Regions from separate parts of the Homo sapiens genome. Here all the other regions are linked to region 1. Evidence: promoter capture Hi-C in human tissues and cell types (Jung and others, 2019). All regions are on one chromosome and are shown on one strand. Each heading gives the region's core, a stretch centred on a gene start or on the middle of the fragment in contact. The rest is flanking DNA. Distances are from core to core; before and after follow the strand shown.

What was found. The method cuts DNA at HindIII sites, captures the fragments that hold promoters and counts their contacts. A contact is called where the count stands out against the background at its distance.
Region 2: a fragment that was not itself captured here is called in contact with the fragment with the promoter of POU4F1 in region 1 in 1 of the 25 tissues and cell types used here (lymphoblastoid cells).
Region 3: a contact is called between a fragment that was not itself captured here and the fragment with the promoter of POU4F1 in region 1, in 1 of the 25 tissues and cell types used here (lymphoblastoid cells).

The regions. Positions count from the first base shown.
Region 1 is chr13:78,602,210-78,606,024 of GRCh38, reverse strand. It overlaps POU4F1 (POU class 4 homeobox 1), which reads left to right and starts at 2,473. Exons shown (of 2, transcript NM_006237.4): 1 at 2,473-2,821; 2 at 3,474-3,815. The coding sequence starts at 2,699. It overlaps OBI1-AS1 (OBI1 antisense RNA 1), which reads right to left. Exons shown (of 6, transcript NR_047001.1): 4 at 581-724. RefSeq lists a silencer at 2,523-2,682. The HindIII fragment of the contact is 11,230 bases long and covers 1-3,815 here.
Region 2 is chr13:77,843,275-77,847,089 of GRCh38, reverse strand. The region is part of intron 6 of EDNRB-AS1 (EDNRB antisense RNA 1); the gene reads right to left. Among named protein-coding and RNA genes, the nearest start is that of EDNRB-AS1, 26 kb to the right of the region's middle. The HindIII fragment of the contact is 3,131 bases long and covers 576-3,706 here.
Region 3 is chr13:77,907,439-77,911,253 of GRCh38, reverse strand. The region is part of intron 1 of EDNRB (endothelin receptor type B); the gene reads left to right. It overlaps EDNRB-AS1 (EDNRB antisense RNA 1), which reads right to left. Exons shown (of 7, transcript NR_103853.1): 7 at 2,812-3,562. Among named protein-coding and RNA genes, the nearest start is that of EDNRB, 9.5 kb to the left of the region's middle. The HindIII fragment of the contact is 4,484 bases long and covers 1-3,815 here.

The DNA.
Region 1 (3,815 bases), core at 1,224-3,723:
TACTTTTCCTGTGACAAACTCTGCACTAAGTGCTATAGTGAAGATGGATGTATCCTAGATGGGCTTCCTATCCATGGTGGGAGGGGGAGGGAGGATTGTACCCATAGCCCTCATGTTTCTGGTCCCATCAAAACACCCAATACCCCAAGCAAAGATCTGGCCTCACCCCAAGGTGGGGTATTCCTGTTGTCGAAAGAGAGGTGAACAGGGAAGGAAATCTTGGTGGGACTAACTCCTAACTTCAGGCTAAGGTGGCATCTCTCCGCTGGGTTTAATGGAAGCCTCCCAGGGTTGGAGGGTGAACCGAGGTGCCTTTTGGGTACTCAGGAGCTCACCTGGCTCTCAGAGGCCCCACCCGGCCGCAAACCTGTACTGTTTACCTTTCTGTTGCTCCTGTACCCTTCAGGGTCCCTAAAGACCAGCGCTTCCTTGAGAGGGGAGGGGCAGGTTCCAGGCCCTCACCCTCTGTGGGGGCCTTTTCTTTCCCGTCAAGAGAGAGCGCAGGGAACGGCCACCAGGGGTGTCAGGAAGGACTAGGTTAAGCCCGGACTCCCGGTGTGATGACTACCGTAGGACTCACTCTTTCCCTCTAGCGACGTCCTGCTCATCGTCCACTCCCCGTTGAGATAAAGTTGCATTTAGCGCTCCCAGGGGACTGCGTAATGGATGGAACCAGCTCCTTCTCTCACCAGCAAGTGAACATCCTTCTCACTTCCCTCTGGAGCTAGAAGGAAGGGAGGGGGTGGGGGGGAACATGAAAAGAAAGAAAGAAAAAGCCATGGTGACGCCTGTGGGCTCTTCTTGGAATCTGAGTAGGTGAGTGGGTATGCTAAACACACATGCATTTGTGCAGAGGAAAGATAAAATCCACGGGAACGCAAATTTAGGTTTATAGAAATGAGATCTGCTCTTTGGTGGAAATACAGACTTCCTTGGTGTGGGAGAGAACAGAAAGATTATCTGATTTCTGCTTTCCATAAGCAGCCCCTTGCTGCTCTCCAGCTCTCTTACCGCAGATGTGATAACATCTGGGCTGTTAGGTTATTATCACCGCGAGCAAGTGCTCCTTCCCTGGGGACTTTGGCACCTGAACTGTGGCTCCCCTGGGAGGCTCTTGATCTGCTACCACATAAGGGCCATATAACAGGTTGGCTAATTGATTTATTCTTTTTAGGTCTTAATTTCACAATAATTTTTTAAAAATTTAAAAACTGGACCAGAGCTTGTCCCCGTTCTTTCAAATTGGCTTGATTTAATATTTTTGAATCAAGCTTTCCTGTAAGTTAGTTTGATCTGTCTCCTATTGAAAAAAATATATATAAGCAGGCAGAGATATGAGGCAAAAAGCCAAAAAGATGGAAGGGAAAAGAAAGTTCTCTTTTCAACATCTTATTCCCTTTTCTCTGAAGCAGTTTTCCTGGAGTTCCCAGCATAAAGTGTGTGTGTGTGTGTGTGTGTGTGTGTGTGTGTGTGTACGCTGAGGGGAGGAAGGATCCCAACTACACCCTGTTAACTGTTTTTTCCTTTTGATTACTAGAAGCCTTAGATCACCCGGAGCTCGTTTGAAACGTGGGTTTGTACACGGTTGAAGGAGACAAACAATAAGAGAAATGCACAATTTCATTTCAACAGCTTTTCCCGAGTAGAAAGCACACGCTCCTTGTGGCTCCTAAGTGGCTGTCACTGGCGGTGCCTGACACAGTTATATTCACAACAACAACAAAAAAGTATGCGGAGGAAATTAAATTATATGGAAATCAATAGCGTCTGACTGCTTCAAACAAATGTCTGTCACCGCGATTATTCTCCAGGAACCTATTTATAAACCTTTAAAGAAACAGGTTCTTGCAGCAAAAGACAGCACCTTCTGCATTTCTGTGTTGTTATTTATACTGTATACAGAGGAATGCGCGGGCATAATTTAACGTAGAAATGTCCAGCTGTATACATTATACAACAGCTTGTTAGGCATCCCGAAGAGGAGGAATGCCTAAGTAATGCTCATATATTCAAGGCTTGCTATCAGGGAGAAGAAACATACACACATACACACACACGCACGCACACACACACACACACACACACATAGAGGGGCGTGCGCGCATCTCGTCTTTTTTATTCTAAAAGGTGCCCACCCTTAGACAATAGCTGGACCTTCTGATCTTTCCAGACCACGGTGGGAAAGGTGAGGCGGGCAGTGCGCATGCCCGGGTAGCTACAGGTGCATCACCTGCGCTGTCCTTGCTGGTGGTCACTATAAGAGCGGCTCCCACGCGCTGGTCGCGGCCGGACGAGCGCGCGCGCGCGCAGACGCACGGGGCCGCCGAGAAGGAGAGCGCGCGTCAGACAGACGGAGACAGCTGATGCCTGTCAGCGCGGTGGGGCCGCGAGCTCTCGCGAGAGCTCCCCGGGACGGCCGCGAGAAGTGGGGCTCAGGTGTTAGAGGAGTGCATCCCGTCGGCGCGCGGGGCTAGAGCTGTCGGAGAAGCGGGACCGCGAGGCCGGCGCGCGGCGCTCTGCGCGGTCAGAGGGAGCGCCTGGCAGCAGCAGGAGCAGCAGCAGCAGCCCGCGGCGGGGCCGCCGCCAGCCGCCGCGACCGCCGCGGCTGCAGCCTCCGAAGGGAGGCCGGGTGAGCCGGCGTACGCACTTTCCCGCGGACTTTCGGAGTGTTTGTGGATATACATGCCAAGCCGCCACGATGATGTCCATGAACAGCAAGCAGCCTCACTTTGCCATGCATCCCACCCTCCCTGAGCACAAGTACCCGTCGCTGCACTCCAGCTCCGAGGCCATCCGGCGGGCCTGCCTGCCCACGCCGCCGGTAAGCGCCCCACGCCCGCGGCCCCGGCCCGCGCGCCCGCCCCTCCCCGTCTCCGAAACGCTGCATGTCGGGGGCTGGTGTGTGCAGGTCCCGGTGCGGGGAACTGCGGGCAGGGGGTGTAGAGCAGTCCCGCAGCGAGGCACGTTTTGTCCGGCGGCCCTTAATGTCGTGTTCCTGTCTGCCTCTGCCTCCGCGTCAGGCGCCTGCGATCGGAGTAGGGAGCGCTGGGGCCAGGACTCTCGACTTCCCTCTACTTTCTCTGTTAATTTCACGCCTCAGAAAGGCAGTCTCTGTGCGTGCTCGGGTGTGTGACACGGGTCCCCAGCTGCGAGTTACATTTCCATTTCTTCTTTTCCCTCTTTTTCGTCTCCCACGCCCGTTTCCGGAATGTGTTCTTGTGTCCCCCTTTCTCCCTACTTCTGTCCCCCTCTCCACGCTCCCATCCCTTCTCGTCTGCCCCCTCCCTGGTCGTCAATGTGCCCCCTCTCCGTCTTTCCCGCTCTCCACTGCCCCCAAACCCGTTGTTATTTTGGTTGCTTTGTGTTTGCCCTTCGCATGCTGTGCTTTCCGGCCTGTGTGTGTGTTTCTTCTGTTGTTTTGTTTTGCTCTTTTGGTTTTGTGGTTTTTTTGGTTTGGTTTGTGTCGCCTGCAGCTGCAGAGCAACCTCTTCGCCAGCCTGGACGAGACGCTGCTGGCGCGGGCCGAGGCGCTGGCGGCCGTGGACATCGCCGTGTCCCAGGGCAAGAGCCATCCTTTCAAGCCGGACGCCACGTACCACACGATGAACAGCGTGCCGTGCACGTCCACTTCCACGGTGCCTCTGGCGCACCACCACCACCACCACCACCACCACCAGGCGCTCGAACCCGGCGATCTGCTGGACCACATCTCCTCGCCGTCGCTCGCGCTCATGGCCGGCGCGGGCGGCGCGGGCGCGGCGGCCGGCGGCGGCGGCGCCCACGACGGCCCGGGGGGCGGTGGCGGCCCGGGCGGC
Region 2 (3,815 bases), core at 892-3,391, 760 kb after region 1:
GCCATTTGTGATCTCAAAAGTGGTAATTTCACAATTCAATCCAAAATAACTTTATTAAATTAAAGTTCCTGAAACTAGAGCCCATAGTCAGATATGTGCTATTCTAGATTCTAAAGCTTTCCCATAAACAAATTCAGGCATTATCTCTCTGTTGGTAACAATTCATAAAGCCTTCAGGGTTTTAAACAATAACTGCAAATGATCAGTCTATTCGAATCTATTACCTTCACTATTGCTACCTGCGTGAACTGCTATTTTTCACGTATTGGCAAGTTTCTCTTTTCAGATATCTTCACTAGTATTTCTGAAGACATCTGCTTTGCCTTTCATCCTTTTTAACAGAAGCAGATGAGTAATTACCAACTAGATGGTAATAAAGACCATGGTAGTCCCTCTTATCCACAGAGGACACATTCCAAGACCCCAGTGGGTGACTGAAACGTTGGAGAGTACCAAACCCTATATAAATATACTATGTTTTTTTCCTATACATACATAAATACTTATGATAAAGTTTAATTTATAAACTAGGCACTGTAAGAGATTCACAACAGTAACATAATAAAATAGAACAGTTACATCAATACTCAGAATGGCACATAATTTAAAACTTATGAATTGTTTATTTTTAAAATTTCATCTAATATTTTCAGACTGCAGTTGACAATGGGTAACTAAAACCACAGAAAGTGAAACTGCAGATAAGGGGAAGCTACTGCACAACATGAAGAGTCTTCACTTCTGATGACTTTAGATGGCATATTTGATCACCATTGTTTCTTGAAAACATTGAATGTTACTTTCTTTATAGCATAGAGCTATACATTTATTCTCTTAGTTCTGGACTTGTTTTTGTGAACTTCTGGACCCACCGTAAGTAAACAAGCCTTCTATTTTGCTATGCTTCTCCACAGATATACAGAGAAGTATTGTCCTGTATTCTATTATTAATAAACAGTTCAATCTCCTTCCCTAAATAAACAAAAAAGAAGGTGAGTTTTTCTCTCAAATACCCTCACGTTTTTGGAACAAGCTTTTCAAACTTTTCATTTTATATTCCCGTGACACTGAAAAACCATCTGAGTATATACAAAATAAAAAGACCACCTTAAAAATATGCTAGCTTTTTTCTTCTAGTTGTAAATGTTCTGTTATTTGTTCACTCCAGGATTATGCAATATAAAGGAAGATTAAATATCATTGTCTAAACTGGACCAGCACCCTGTTAGCACCACTACTCACTGAGAGCTTAAGATGTAGACTCTGAAAGAAGGTCTAGTTTTAGATTGCCTCTCTGAGCAACTCTCAAATTCACCCTCTATTTGCCCTATGGAACAGCTGGTTTTATCTTGTGGAATTTTTCTCTGGCCTAGCCTACCTTTTCCTCCCTGCTGTTCTAAGATTGGAGGCTTTCTCTAAATCTGTGCTGTGCAATACCATAGCCACCAACCACCTGAAGCTACTGAGCACTCATAATGTGGTTGATCCCGGTTGATCCATGCTGTATGTGTACAATGTTCACGCCATTTCAAATATTAGTAGAAAAAATGTAAAATATTCCGTTCATAATTTATATAAGGATAACTTTTTGAAAATATTTGGGATAGGTTGGGTTAAATGAAATATATTATTAGAATAATTTAACCTTTTTTATCTTGTTTGTCTACTAGAAAGTTGTTCAAAATTACACATGTACTTTTGTATGATGTACTTTTTATTATATTTCTATTGAACAGCACTGCACTATACTGTCTGTTCATTTTCACGTCTCCCTCTCCCCTTGCTCTGCAGTGGTGGGGAGGTTCCTAATATGCCCTTGTCCAGTCCCTGCTCCCAACATCCCAGGCTGAGCCAGCCCTACTGCACTCATCCAGAAGAAAATTTTGGCAATATTTGTAAAAATATTAAGTGATTTTTTTATATTTAAGGAAAAAATACAGAACTTCTCAAAATAATTCTAGAGTTCATCTGAGGGGCAGGAATACCTAAGGATAATTTGTAAAAGAAGAGTAATGAAGAAGAACCTCTTAGAAATTCATAAGTTTTTGACAAGCTTAAAAATTATAATAAATGGAAATTATTTAGGGCAATGTCTGGTGCATAGTAAGCAAGCACTCAATATGTGATAGCTATTACTATTGTCACTTCTTATCAAAGTATATACAAATAAAACAATTAAAACCTTATAGAATGGGAAAGAAGGATACATTTGTAGATGGTTGGTATAGATCTATGAACAACCATTTTTACGTATATAAAATATTTAATATATTGTGTTTTAGATCTTATTATAGATCAATAGGTGAGAGAAGAGATTAATCAATAATTAGTTTTCAGAATGGCTAATTATTTTGGAGAAAATGAATCCCACATTGATGACAGATGAAATTTTTTAAATATTTATTTTAAGAAAGGTAAAATATAGGTGAATATCTGATATTTATCATAGAAGGATATTCTAAGCTTAATAGTAATTGGGGGGGAAAGGAAGACTAATATATTTAGTAGCATTAAAATATAAATCTTTGTTATATAAAAAAGTAACCAAAAGCTAAAGCAAACTATAAAACAAAGGGAAAAAAATAACACAAATATTATAAAAAGTTAATTGTATTTTAAAAACGTATATACATCAATAAGAAGTGCATTAGCAATCAAATGATAGAAAAATAGACACAAGATAAACATGAGAGGAAATTTTGAACTCTACTAGTACAAATGATCAAAATATTTTAAACTATTAATAATCAGTGCTAGAAATGGTGCAATGAAACAGTGTGTTTGGACAGTACAGATGGGATTCCAGGGGCTACAACCTTCCTAAAAACAATTTGGCAATATATATCAAAAGCTTTCCACCCGTTGATTTTAAGATTCTGTCTTAAAAAAATTATCTAAATTTACCTTACTAGCGGAAAAGTTAAATAAAGTTTTAATATAGCTATATGATGAAATATTACATGGTCATTAAAAGTAATGTGCATGAAGGGCACTTAAAACATAAAGATGGCTTATAATGTTATAATATAATAATATTAGAATAAAATAGCAGGCTCCACCTTGTCTTCTGTAACAATCATTAACATACCAAAATTTTTCTGTGTTATTTGACACATCACAAGTGAGAGAAGCCCAATTGAAATGGAACATGCTACCAAGAGAATTTCATGGAGGTGTCAAGTAGCCAAATGAAGGACAGAGTACAGCTTGGTCAAAGAAGTGGCTAGAACCAGAGACCAAATGGTATCAGAACATCCTGGCCCCACTCTCTGTAATTCTGAAGTCGTGTTCAGATTGACTTGTTTTACACTGCAGGGAATATGGTCATCTTGTGTCCTGGGGTCTAATAACTCACAGCTTTGCCTGCAGGAACTGACTCAAGTTAACATTCTAAGAAAAACAACTCACTGGTCTACTTTGGGTTAGCTATTTCCACCCATGGACAAATCACTGTGGCCAAGAAGGCAGGTTTCTGTGATTGACAGATACAACTTGAAACACATAATTGACAAAGCAAGATAGCTGTTCTGCAAAGGAATAGAGGCACTGGGCAGGGAGGTTAGTAGGTGTTCGTAGCAATTTAAATCTTCATTAAACAGAAAAATTTCAGAAATCTCTGATAGTCCTCAATAAAACAAAAGCAACACATAAAAATGGAAACATACCACTATGTTTTAAACTCTATTAAAATACAAGTCCAATGGTGAAAACACAAGTCCAAGGGTGAAAATCATAACAAAATGGCTACTCCTTAAAGAAGTAAACATTTCATTTAGTCTCCACAACTCCTTGGGGTGATACTACTCTTTTTTTTT
Region 3 (3,815 bases), core at 743-3,242, 690 kb after region 1:
TGAGCCAGGAGGCCCTCAGGTTCTCATTCTTCTGTGTCTTCAGATATCACCAGTGATCTTAGAAGATCCAGCTCAGATAAGTGAACTAATAATAGGCCAGGTTTGTGAATGGGGTTTGTTATTTCCCTTAGTTGGATCTTTTCAAAATATGTAATATGTCGGTGATAGTTTTAAAGCTCAAACTATGGATATATTTTTAAATTTAGATAATAAAAGAGTACAATCAATTTCTTTCCTGGCCTGTTACAGACTCAGAAATAAATTTCTGGTAGGAAAATATATTTGAGGTAAACTTCAATTTCTCTTAAGAAATATTTTTAAAAAATTGTTTTCTATCTCTATGTTTCTCTTAGAGATTTTGTTTCAAGAACTTTAATTCATTTTCATAAGCCATTGTTCTATTTCAGCAAGTTAGAGGAATCTTTCCAGAGCTGTGAAAAGGCCTCTGTTTTGTGGATGTGTGTGAAATAGATTCCCATGGACAGAACCGCTGCCTTGCACAACTCTAGGGGGCACTGTACTTATTGTAATCTATTGAGATGGCACCCCTGGGGGATAAGCTAACATTATTTCTGACCCACATATTTCTAACTCACATAGGCTAATCTTTAAGTGATTAAGGGCATTCTGATGGATGCAGGGTAGAACTTGTAATTTATATTTGTCCTTCAGGGCACGGTGCACTGTATGTCAAGAAGAAAATATTTCCATGCACTTGATCAGCATATTGACTCCAAATTCAAAGCTTACTTTGAACTATTTCTTTGTGTATTAATACAGAAAGAGTTCTGGCATGGAAGTCCTTTAGTGAAGGTGCCCTATCTCATTAAAACTCTAGTTCAAACACAGAAAAACTCTTAACTACTACAGGAAACAGAGACAAAAACAGAATACACCCTTTCCTAAAGTTGTGAAATGCAGCCATTCCATTATTTTCCTTTTTTGACTCTTACTGTGAAAACATTTATATAATGCCAGTCGTTTAAAGAAACGTTCACAACTTATCACAGGATGGAATAGACTGCAGTCTGGCAAAGTAATCTTGGTTGTCCTCTTAATTACACCACTCACTCATCCTCTAAAACAATCATCTCTTACAATGCTCCTATGTTTACTGCATCTACTTCCACGAAACTTAACAATCCTCTCCACAGCTGAAGCTCTTCATAGACTCCCATTACATAGTGAGAAACAGTAGGTTCTGTTTTGTATCAGTCATTGCCTTGACAAGTTTGAGTAGGAGAGAGAGGGTGGGAGAGGAATTTTTGTCGTTACCTTTTCCGCCCTGCATGGAAGAGCAGAACTCCAACAAGAGTCCAGCCCACTCTCAAGCCTCAATTCTAGAGTTTCTGACTCTATGTGCCAAGAAGACCTGATCATCAGTACTAGAAAATATAAATAGTAAATATACAGTCATGTCAATTATCTAAAGAATATATGTAGAGTATGAGAACTGAAAAGCTCATGACAAATGTTTTGTCATAGATGATTTCTGCCGTGTGATCAAATTCATTCATCCACTCATCCGTTCATCGTTACTTAACAAACATTGAATGAGTGACCACTGTGTGCCAATCACTGTACTAGGCATTATAAATGTTGTAGAATATTCTGAAACAAATAAACAGTTAAAGCTCAATGTACATTTGTAATTTAATAAAGTAGAAAAAGAAAATGCTATCTATGTTTAATGAGGTGAGTGAACATTTGCTTGTACAAGATGGTTAACTTTGACATTTCCTGACTTTATGGGGCTTGACTCCTTTTGGCATTAACAGGGGTGTGTGTTAACAGGATTTTTTTTCTTCATTTATTATCTCAAGTATGTGATTTTTAATTAAAAAGAGAAATGAAACATGTAAATCCCCTGGTTAGAGAGATTTTGTAGGATTCACTTCACAAAACCCTCAAATAAGTAAAGAATATTTGTTTCTTATTCATGCTATTTATCCTTTTAGAAAAATTTTAAACTATAATATCAAAATGACTTTATAATGTAATAGAATAATTTATTTGGATTCTCTTGCCTTGTTTCTTTCTCAAGCAGCTGTTCCAAGGTAAAGTTATAAAATCACGGTCTTTCTTGAGTAGAAATCTTTTAGCCAGTATGGCCACACCTTTTTTCAATCTAGTGTTTATTTATTTGTGTTTATCATCCAAAAGAAATGTTCTAGAGAAGCAGTATAAGCCTTAGGGTAAAATGGGTCAGCACAAACATAGGCTATCATTTTGTCAAATGGATACCATATTGCCAGCAGGACTTAACACTAACAACAGCTATTCAGTTAGATGAGACATCATGATATGAAAACCAGTGCCAGTTATGTGAGTATTGCCAACTGGCTCATATTTGATCAATGTTAGGTAACATATATTCAACTGAATTTTAAACAGGATTTAAAATTTTAATTTATGTGGAAGCGACATAGTGTCAATATTAAACTCTAAACACCCTTTTTGCGATCAGAGAGACAGCCTTTTGATTACATGTTTGAATTGTCTTCACTGTTCAGACCTTGCCCTTAAGTTATCTAATTTAATGGGGTAAAGTCCAAAGAAAAAACTAAAAATAGGGAATAAGGAATGTGTTATTGCTGGGTTTAAAGTTAGAGTTGCTTCCTCTTGCAATAAAGTGAATCCATTTCCTCTTCAGTGGGGAAAGCTGTATCCTTAGACTTCAAATTATTGATGTTAGATGTTGTTATTTTTCCCAAAGAATGATGAAGAAATGAATGTCTAAGAATCATACCCATCTATAAGAACAATCTCTCACCAAATTTTAAAGATGGCATCTTGGTTGAGAGTGAATTTTTTTTTTTTTTTTTTTGGCAAAACTTCATAGTTTTTCCCCACCAGGGATACCTTTATATTTTAGGTAAGCTTCAAGCACTAGCTTGCCTAAAGACTTTCTTGCTAGAGGCCATTAAGATGACAGAGATGAGCATCAATAGTGGGCATGGTTTCTGTCACAGAGTATCAGGCTTTGCTGGGTCTCCACAAAGCCTTCTGATCAGTGAGGCAGAGGTTAAGATTTTTAAAGGAAGAGCGTTTAGAGTCTCGCCAAAGCCATCCTTCTCACTACAAAATAATGGAAGCAACAGTGCATGCTCTTCCCACATCTTCTATGGCCTTCCAGAGCCAATAGCATCCAGTTCTAAATTGAAAGCATGAAATGCTGAAAGCTGATAAAGGTTAATGCTCTCTCTCTCTTTTTTTTTTTTTTTTTTTTTTTGCAGTCTCTTTCCCTTCAAAAGTGTAGACTAGAAAACTGTAATCTCTCCGTGGTGATTACGTGTCTGACTATCTCTCTGTTGAGCTTGAAGAGCATTGTTATAATTTTCAGTTTGTGTTTCCCTGTTTTCTGTGATAGCTTGGGTCAGAGGTTGGGCTGCAGGCCTCCAGTGGTATGAAGAGCAATAATCCAATTTCTAGGCTGAGCCAAAAACAATGGAAACCTCAAAACATGGCCTGGATTCAGTGCAGAGCTCATTTTCATCAGCCAGACTTCTTTCCCTTCAATGGTCTGGACGCTCATTCATCTTGATTCTTCTGATAGCCATACCTACAGGATAACAATATTAACATATTTGGAAATAATTTAAGACAGAATAAAATATTTTAAAATATCCAAATGTTTGTACATTATTTGAATAAAATAACTAGGGGGATTAGTCAGGGTTCTCCAGAGAAACAGAACCAGTGGGATAGATAGATGGATGGATAGGTAGATAGGTAGTTAGTAGACAGACAGATAAATAGATAATGAGGAATTGGTTTATGAGATTATAGAGGCTAAGAAGTCCCATAATTGGCCA